Regions from separate parts of the Homo sapiens genome. Here region 1 is linked to region 2. Evidence: promoter capture Hi-C in 16 types of primary human blood cells and fetal thymus (Javierre and others, 2016). All regions are on one chromosome and are shown on one strand. Each heading gives the region's core, a stretch centred on a gene start or on the middle of the fragment in contact. The rest is flanking DNA. Distances are from core to core; before and after follow the strand shown.

Region 1 (2,796 bases), core at 160-2,659, 310 kb after region 2:
AACCTCAAGACTCTGGGACCCCAGGTGAGCCCCTTGGCTTCTCTGAGCCTCAGTTTCTTCATCTGTAAAATGGGGACAGTGAGTCCAACCTCATCTAGGAGGTGACCAGCACAGTGCCTGACCCAGCGGGTACTCAACTGGTCATTGGAAAGGGCAAGAGGAAAGGCCCTAGCATTTGGGGACCCCTCCCAGGAGTGCTGGAAGACCAAGGGCTGCTACCTGAACCTAACAGGAGACCCCACGGAGGGAACGGGAACGGCCAGCTGCCCACAGGATGCCGGGACCCCGGTGCCTGTCACCTTCCCTGTCCCTGCTGTCTGACCTCCTCTGTCCCCCTGGACCTGCTCAATGGTCTGGGGCCACACAGAGTGGGGTGCCAGGCCATGCCTCATAGAATGGGTGCGACCCTCCCCAAATTCTCCAAACGGCCTTGCCCGCTTGGGTGATGAGGGAAACGGAGCCTGAGTCGGGACTCAGACCCCCACTGATCTGCCTCTAGAATGCTGCAGGCCTGACGGGAGAGGGCCTGAGGCGCAGGGTGGCCCAAGCCTTCAGCCAGGAGCTCAGAGGGTCACAAGTCGGGGCCTCCAGCACCCAGGAAGCAGGACTCGCCTGCCTGGGCTGCAGGCTGGAGAGTGGGCAGACGTGGGCCGGGGGTCGGTTGGTGCCGGCGGGAGGTTCCAGCCCCTGTGGATGGAGATGGAGGCGACCCCCAGTCGGTGCGGGGAGTGGGGAGTTGAGCTCCCTCAGTGGGGGTGGTGGGGGCTACCTTGGGGTCAGGCTTCGGACTGAGGCTGGGGGAAGCTGTGGCGCCCGCATTATTTGCGGAGAGGAGCAGGAGGATGCTTGGGGGTTGGGGGTGCGGGTTCCCTGACACCGAATTCATTATTGGGAGATTCCTCTTCACAATCCCTCGACACCTCCCACGGGAACCCTGGGCCAGGAACGCCTGACAGCCTGGCGGGCCGGCTCCAGGGGCACTGGCGCCCGGGTCTCTCGGCGCCCGGTCCCCGCCCGCCCGCTGCCTCGGAACCGTCCCCCGCGGGTCCCGCAGCCTCTGGAAGCCTCTCTGGGCTCAGCCCCGCGCCGCCGCCGCGTCGGGGCTCCCAGTGCACCCCCGGCGGCCGCGTCCCCAGCCCGGCTAGCAGCCCCAGGCCGCCCGCGTCCGCAGAGGCCTGGCCTGAGCGCGCTGCGCGCACGTGGGGAGGGGGCGTCCCGGGGCGGGCGCGGGGAGGGCGGAGCCACGGGCCCGGGCGCGCGGCCGGCGCGGGCTGACGGAGGTCGGCGGCCCGGGAGCGGACCCCGGCGTCCGGGAGGCGGCGCCAGGTGCCGCGCCCCCGCCCCGCGCCCGCCGCGCGCCCCCGCCCCCGGGCCGCCCCCCGCCCGTGACGCGCTCCCCGCCCCCTCCGCGCCGGGAGCCCGAGCCCAAGCCGGAGCCCGAGGAGGGCGAAGGGGCGGCGGGCGGCGAGGAGGCGGCGGGGGAGGCGGCGGGGGAGGCGGCCGGTGCCGCGGGGCCGCCGCCGCCTCTGAGCCGCGCCGAGCTCACGAGCGCAGCCGCGTCGCTGCGGCCCCGGCCGCGCCATGGGGAAGGAGCAGGAGCTGGTGCAGGCGGTGAAGGCGGAGGACGTAGGGACCGCGCAGAGGCTGCTGCAGAGGCCGCGGCCCGGGAAGGCCAGTGAGTGCCGGGGGCGCGGGGCGCGGGTGGGAGCCCCGGGGGCCCCTCCCCGGCGCGGAGCCCCCCACCCGGCGCCGGGCGGGGAGGGGACGTTGTCGGGTCCCCGGGGGCGGGGCGGGGCCAGCAGCGCCCAGACCCTTGGTCCGTGCCCTCCACCCGCTGCCCCCAGCACTGGAGATGGGGCGGCCCCGAGAGCCGGCCGCCACCGTGAGCCCCGCAGCGGGCACCTGGCGGCACCCGCCTCCCGGGCCGCGGGCGTTCGCATCCCTCTCTCTCTACCTCTGTCCCCCTCCCTTCCCAGGCTGCGGGCTGACAGCTGGAGGTCTCTGCTGGGGCCTTCAAAGGGCGAGGCGGATGCCCCCCCCACCCACCACACGCACCGGGAAGACAGGGAGGGGGCCCCTGCGGCGAGGGGCGACCCGGGAGGTGACAGTCCCTAGCAGACCCCCTCCCGCCCCACGTTTAATAACACGCTTTGCAGGGAAGGTGGGGGCAGGACCACGCTGGGGGTGTGGCTGCCCTGGCATGGCCGGTGGGGTGCCATTTACTGATGGGAGAGCAGAGGCCCAAGGTCGCCCAGCCCAGGGCAGGCTGGACTCCAGGCAGGGCCGGCCTGGGCGCAAGGGCTTGGGGCCCTGCTCAGGCAGGCTCCAGCAGAGCCGGGTCTCCAGCTTCCCTGCTGGGAAAGGAGGCCATGAGGGAGTGGGGGACCACCACTGGCCATCCCCAGCTTGCCCTATGGCCGGCCCCAGGAAAGGGCTGGGAGCTTGGAGCCCTGGTCCCAGCACTCATCCTGGCTCAGCGCGTAGCCTCCCTGGGGGCCGCCGGAGATGGATGGATGGGCGTGTGGACCAGCCGCGTGTGCGGCTGCGCACGTATAGCCGTGTCAGTGTGTCAGGGCACCTGTGCGGGCACGGACAGGGCTCTGCAGGTCGGCACGTGGGGTCTGGGCGTCCTCCCTCCTCCCTCCACCCCCACAGACTGTAAGCCAGAGAGTCCCCCTCCCCTTCCTCCAGGGGGATGCCGAGAACTGGGACTGGCTTCTGGGAGATTGTTGGGGGCACCTAGGAGTCCCAGGAGGACCCCCTCCCCCGTACTTCACCAGCAGCCCATGACTGGCT
Region 2 (3,093 bases), core at 357-2,856:
ACCCACCTCAGCCTCCTAAAGTCTTGGGATTACGGGTGTGAGCCACCACACCCGGCCTTGACAGGGATTCCTGATGAAACGTCTGACACTGATTCTTCATGGTGACTCCTCTAAGTCTCCCTAAGACTTTGCTGAGTGTAGCTGTCCACACAGCAGGCACTAGGAACAAAAGAAAACAAGACGGATCAGGGAATGCTGCCGTTCTCACCGGCCACGGCTGCAAATGCGACAGACATGTACCTGTCGCCTCAGTGGAGAGACTCGCTGGTGACCACAATGCGCAGATGCGGTCTTGTCAACCTAGCGCCTCCCTCTCTCCTCCAACACCCTGGAGAAGAGGCGTCCAGGACTTCCCATCCCTCTAAGCCTTCTCATAGCAAGTTATTTCACAGTGACCTTCTTTTACCAGTTCTCGATTTTATTTAGGACTCAAATTAACACCAACCAAACATATCACTAACTCACTTATTTTCACATTTTCAAAGTTGGATTGTGCTGCAAATCCATACATTTGTGCTCACTACACATTTTTTTTATTACATTCATTGAGAGGCTCCAAAGCATCAGTCCAATAAACATTTTTCCAGCCCGATAACCATCCTTCGTAAGAACTAAGAGGTAAAATCATTCACACAACTATTTTTTCCCTTCTATCCTTAGCTCATAAGCATTTGACCAAATGCCAATGTTTTTGCCAGTTCATGTTGTCCGTGCCTTATCACAAGTGACATGTCTACAGGACACGGTATCCACTGACTTTGCTTCCTTGGTCCCAAGAAAAGGTGTTGACAAATTCCATAGTTTGGTAAAATGAGTGAGTCTGCAATTGTGGGAGGCATTTTGTTTTTAGCAATGAATCACATTACATTGTACCTAACTTCTCAAGCACAATCTGATACTAAGATGATGAAGATAGTTCTTAAAAACTCTTTATACCAGATGATTTTTAAAAATCCACATACTTTTCTACCTAACATAGATGTTGTAGGGTGAAGAGCCTATGAGGCTTGTTTGGCACTCCTGCTTCATTTGATAATTTCTCCACGCAAACAAGACATTTAGGCTGAGAAAGAGAACCAGCAAGAATCTGGATGAGCTGGGCACAGCAGCTCACGCCTGTAATCCCAGAATTTAGGGAGGCAGAGGCGGGAGGATTGCTTGAGTCCAGGAGTTCAAGACTAGCCTGGGCAACACAGCAAGACTATGTTCTCCACAAAAAGGGAGGAAAAAAATCTATATGAACCCAAATTTGAGGCAGGTGCTGTATTGCCTAATTAGTGGCCATTTGGGTTTTTTTGACCAGTGGTTTTGTGAGTTTGATGATATTCTGGACTTAGTAAAAATGTGAGAAAGTAAACAACTGTAAAAATTAAATCGATTCCTGGACAGTGGGAAAAAAACGGGGCAATCTCGGCTGGGCGCGGTTGCTCACGCCTGTAATCCCAGCACTTTGGGAGGCCGAGGAGGGCAGATCACGAGGTCAGGAGATCAAGACCATCCTGGCTAACACGGTGAAACCCCATCTCTACTAAAAATATAAAAAAATTAGCCGGGTGTGGTAGCAGGTGCCTGTAGTCCCAGCTACTCAGGAGGCTGAGGCAGGAGAATGGCGTGAATCCGGGAGGCGGGGCTTGCGGTGAGCCGAGATCGCGCCACTGCACTCCAGCCTGGGCGACAGAGCGAGACTCTGTCTCAAAAAAAAAAAAAAAAAAAAAAGGGACAATCTCAATAGGCCTGTGGTTTAGTTAACAGCAATGCAACAATGCTTATTTCTTTGTTTTGATATTGACTTGGGGGAAGGTGAGGGTACATGGAAACCCTGTACCGTCTCTGCAACTCTTCTGCAAATCAAAAATTACTTCAAAATAAAAAGGTACACAACTAAATTACTAAATATAAACTACTCAAGGAGACTGCAAAGGCTTTATGGGTTCAGAAAGTGGATAAGAGAAATATGAAGGCCTCTGAAATCTTCAAAACGTTTTAAAACAAATTCCACTGAAAAACTCAAAAAATGAAGTATGCGGCTTACAAAAATAGAAAAATTAAAATACTTTAGTTCATTAAAACTCTGAAAAAATTCAAGTACAAATGACTTACTCTCATAAGTTCTTTTGCTTAAACTGATTTTCTGAAGCCCCAAAGGCATATAATCTGCTTTAATGAATTCATTTAATAAACTATTTTAAATTAGGTGCAATTGTTGTTTTAAAAATAAATGTTAAACATTTATTCAGCACAAAGTGGTCTATTCAAAAAAATTAAAAAATAGGCTAGGCGCGGTGGCTCACGCCTGTAATCCCAGCACTTTGGGAGGCTGAGGGGGGGGTGGATCACGAGGTCAGGAGTTCAAGACCAGCCTGACCAACACAGTGAAACCCTGCCTCTACTAAAAATACAAAAAAAATTTAGCTGGGCGTGGTGGCGTATGCCTGTAATCCCAGCTACTCAGGAGGCTGAGGCAGGAGAATCGCTTGAACCCAGGAGGCGGAGGTTGCAGTGAGCCAAGATCATGCCACTGCACTCCAGCCTGGGTGACTCTGTCCCAAAAAAAAAAAAAATCAAAAAATAATTCTTTGAATGTTTCTAAAAACAAATGATAATTTATTATGCAGTTTCAACAAATGTTGGCTTTTTTTTTTTTTAAACAAAGAATGGCTACTTCATAGGCAGAGCAGCCACTTTTGGCTAATTTTTAACATCCAAAGCTAATAAATAATCAAGAAGAAATAGAGAACATTAACAAAATAAATTATGTTCTATTTGGGAATACCTAATATCAGATACTAACAAGTACAGTGATAAGAATAAAAAAGATAATAATCACACATACCTTCTAGGTTAGTAGAAAAGTTAGGAAAAGATATTAAATTTAAAGAAACAATATTTTGCATGCACACAAAAAACAAAGAACTTCGCTCATGATGTGGAAATCATGACCCAGCAGCAATCCGTCTTCCTGGTCCAGATCACTGGAAGGCCCGGGTGGGGCCCCCTGGGGGCAGCCACGCAGAACCTGCTGGACTTAACTCGCCAGAAAAATCACCACCCAGTTCAGGAAGTTTGCAGAGGGAAACCTACAAATGGTCCACG

Evidence for each region. Contacts are between HindIII fragments. The CHiCAGO score rates a contact against its expected background, and 5 or more counts as called.
Region 1: a contact is called between the fragment with the promoter of CASKIN1 here and a fragment that was not itself captured in region 2, in 2 of 17 cell types (fetal thymus and erythroblasts). The highest score is 6.5, in fetal thymus.

Annotation. Positions count from the first base shown.
Region 1 is chr16:2,195,218-2,198,013 of GRCh38, reverse strand. CASKIN1 (CASK interacting protein 1) reads left to right here and starts at 1,409. Exons shown (of 20, transcript NM_020764.4): 1 at 1,409-1,675. The coding sequence starts at 1,582. The HindIII fragment of the contact is 37,961 bases long and covers 1-2,796 here.
Region 2 is chr16:2,503,038-2,506,130 of GRCh38, reverse strand. TBC1D24 (TBC1 domain family member 24) reads right to left here. Exons shown (of 8, transcript NM_001199107.2): 8 at 401-3,093. Among named protein-coding and RNA genes, the nearest start is that of ATP6V0C, 9.4 kb to the left of the region's middle. The HindIII fragment of the contact is 5,616 bases long and covers 1-3,093 here.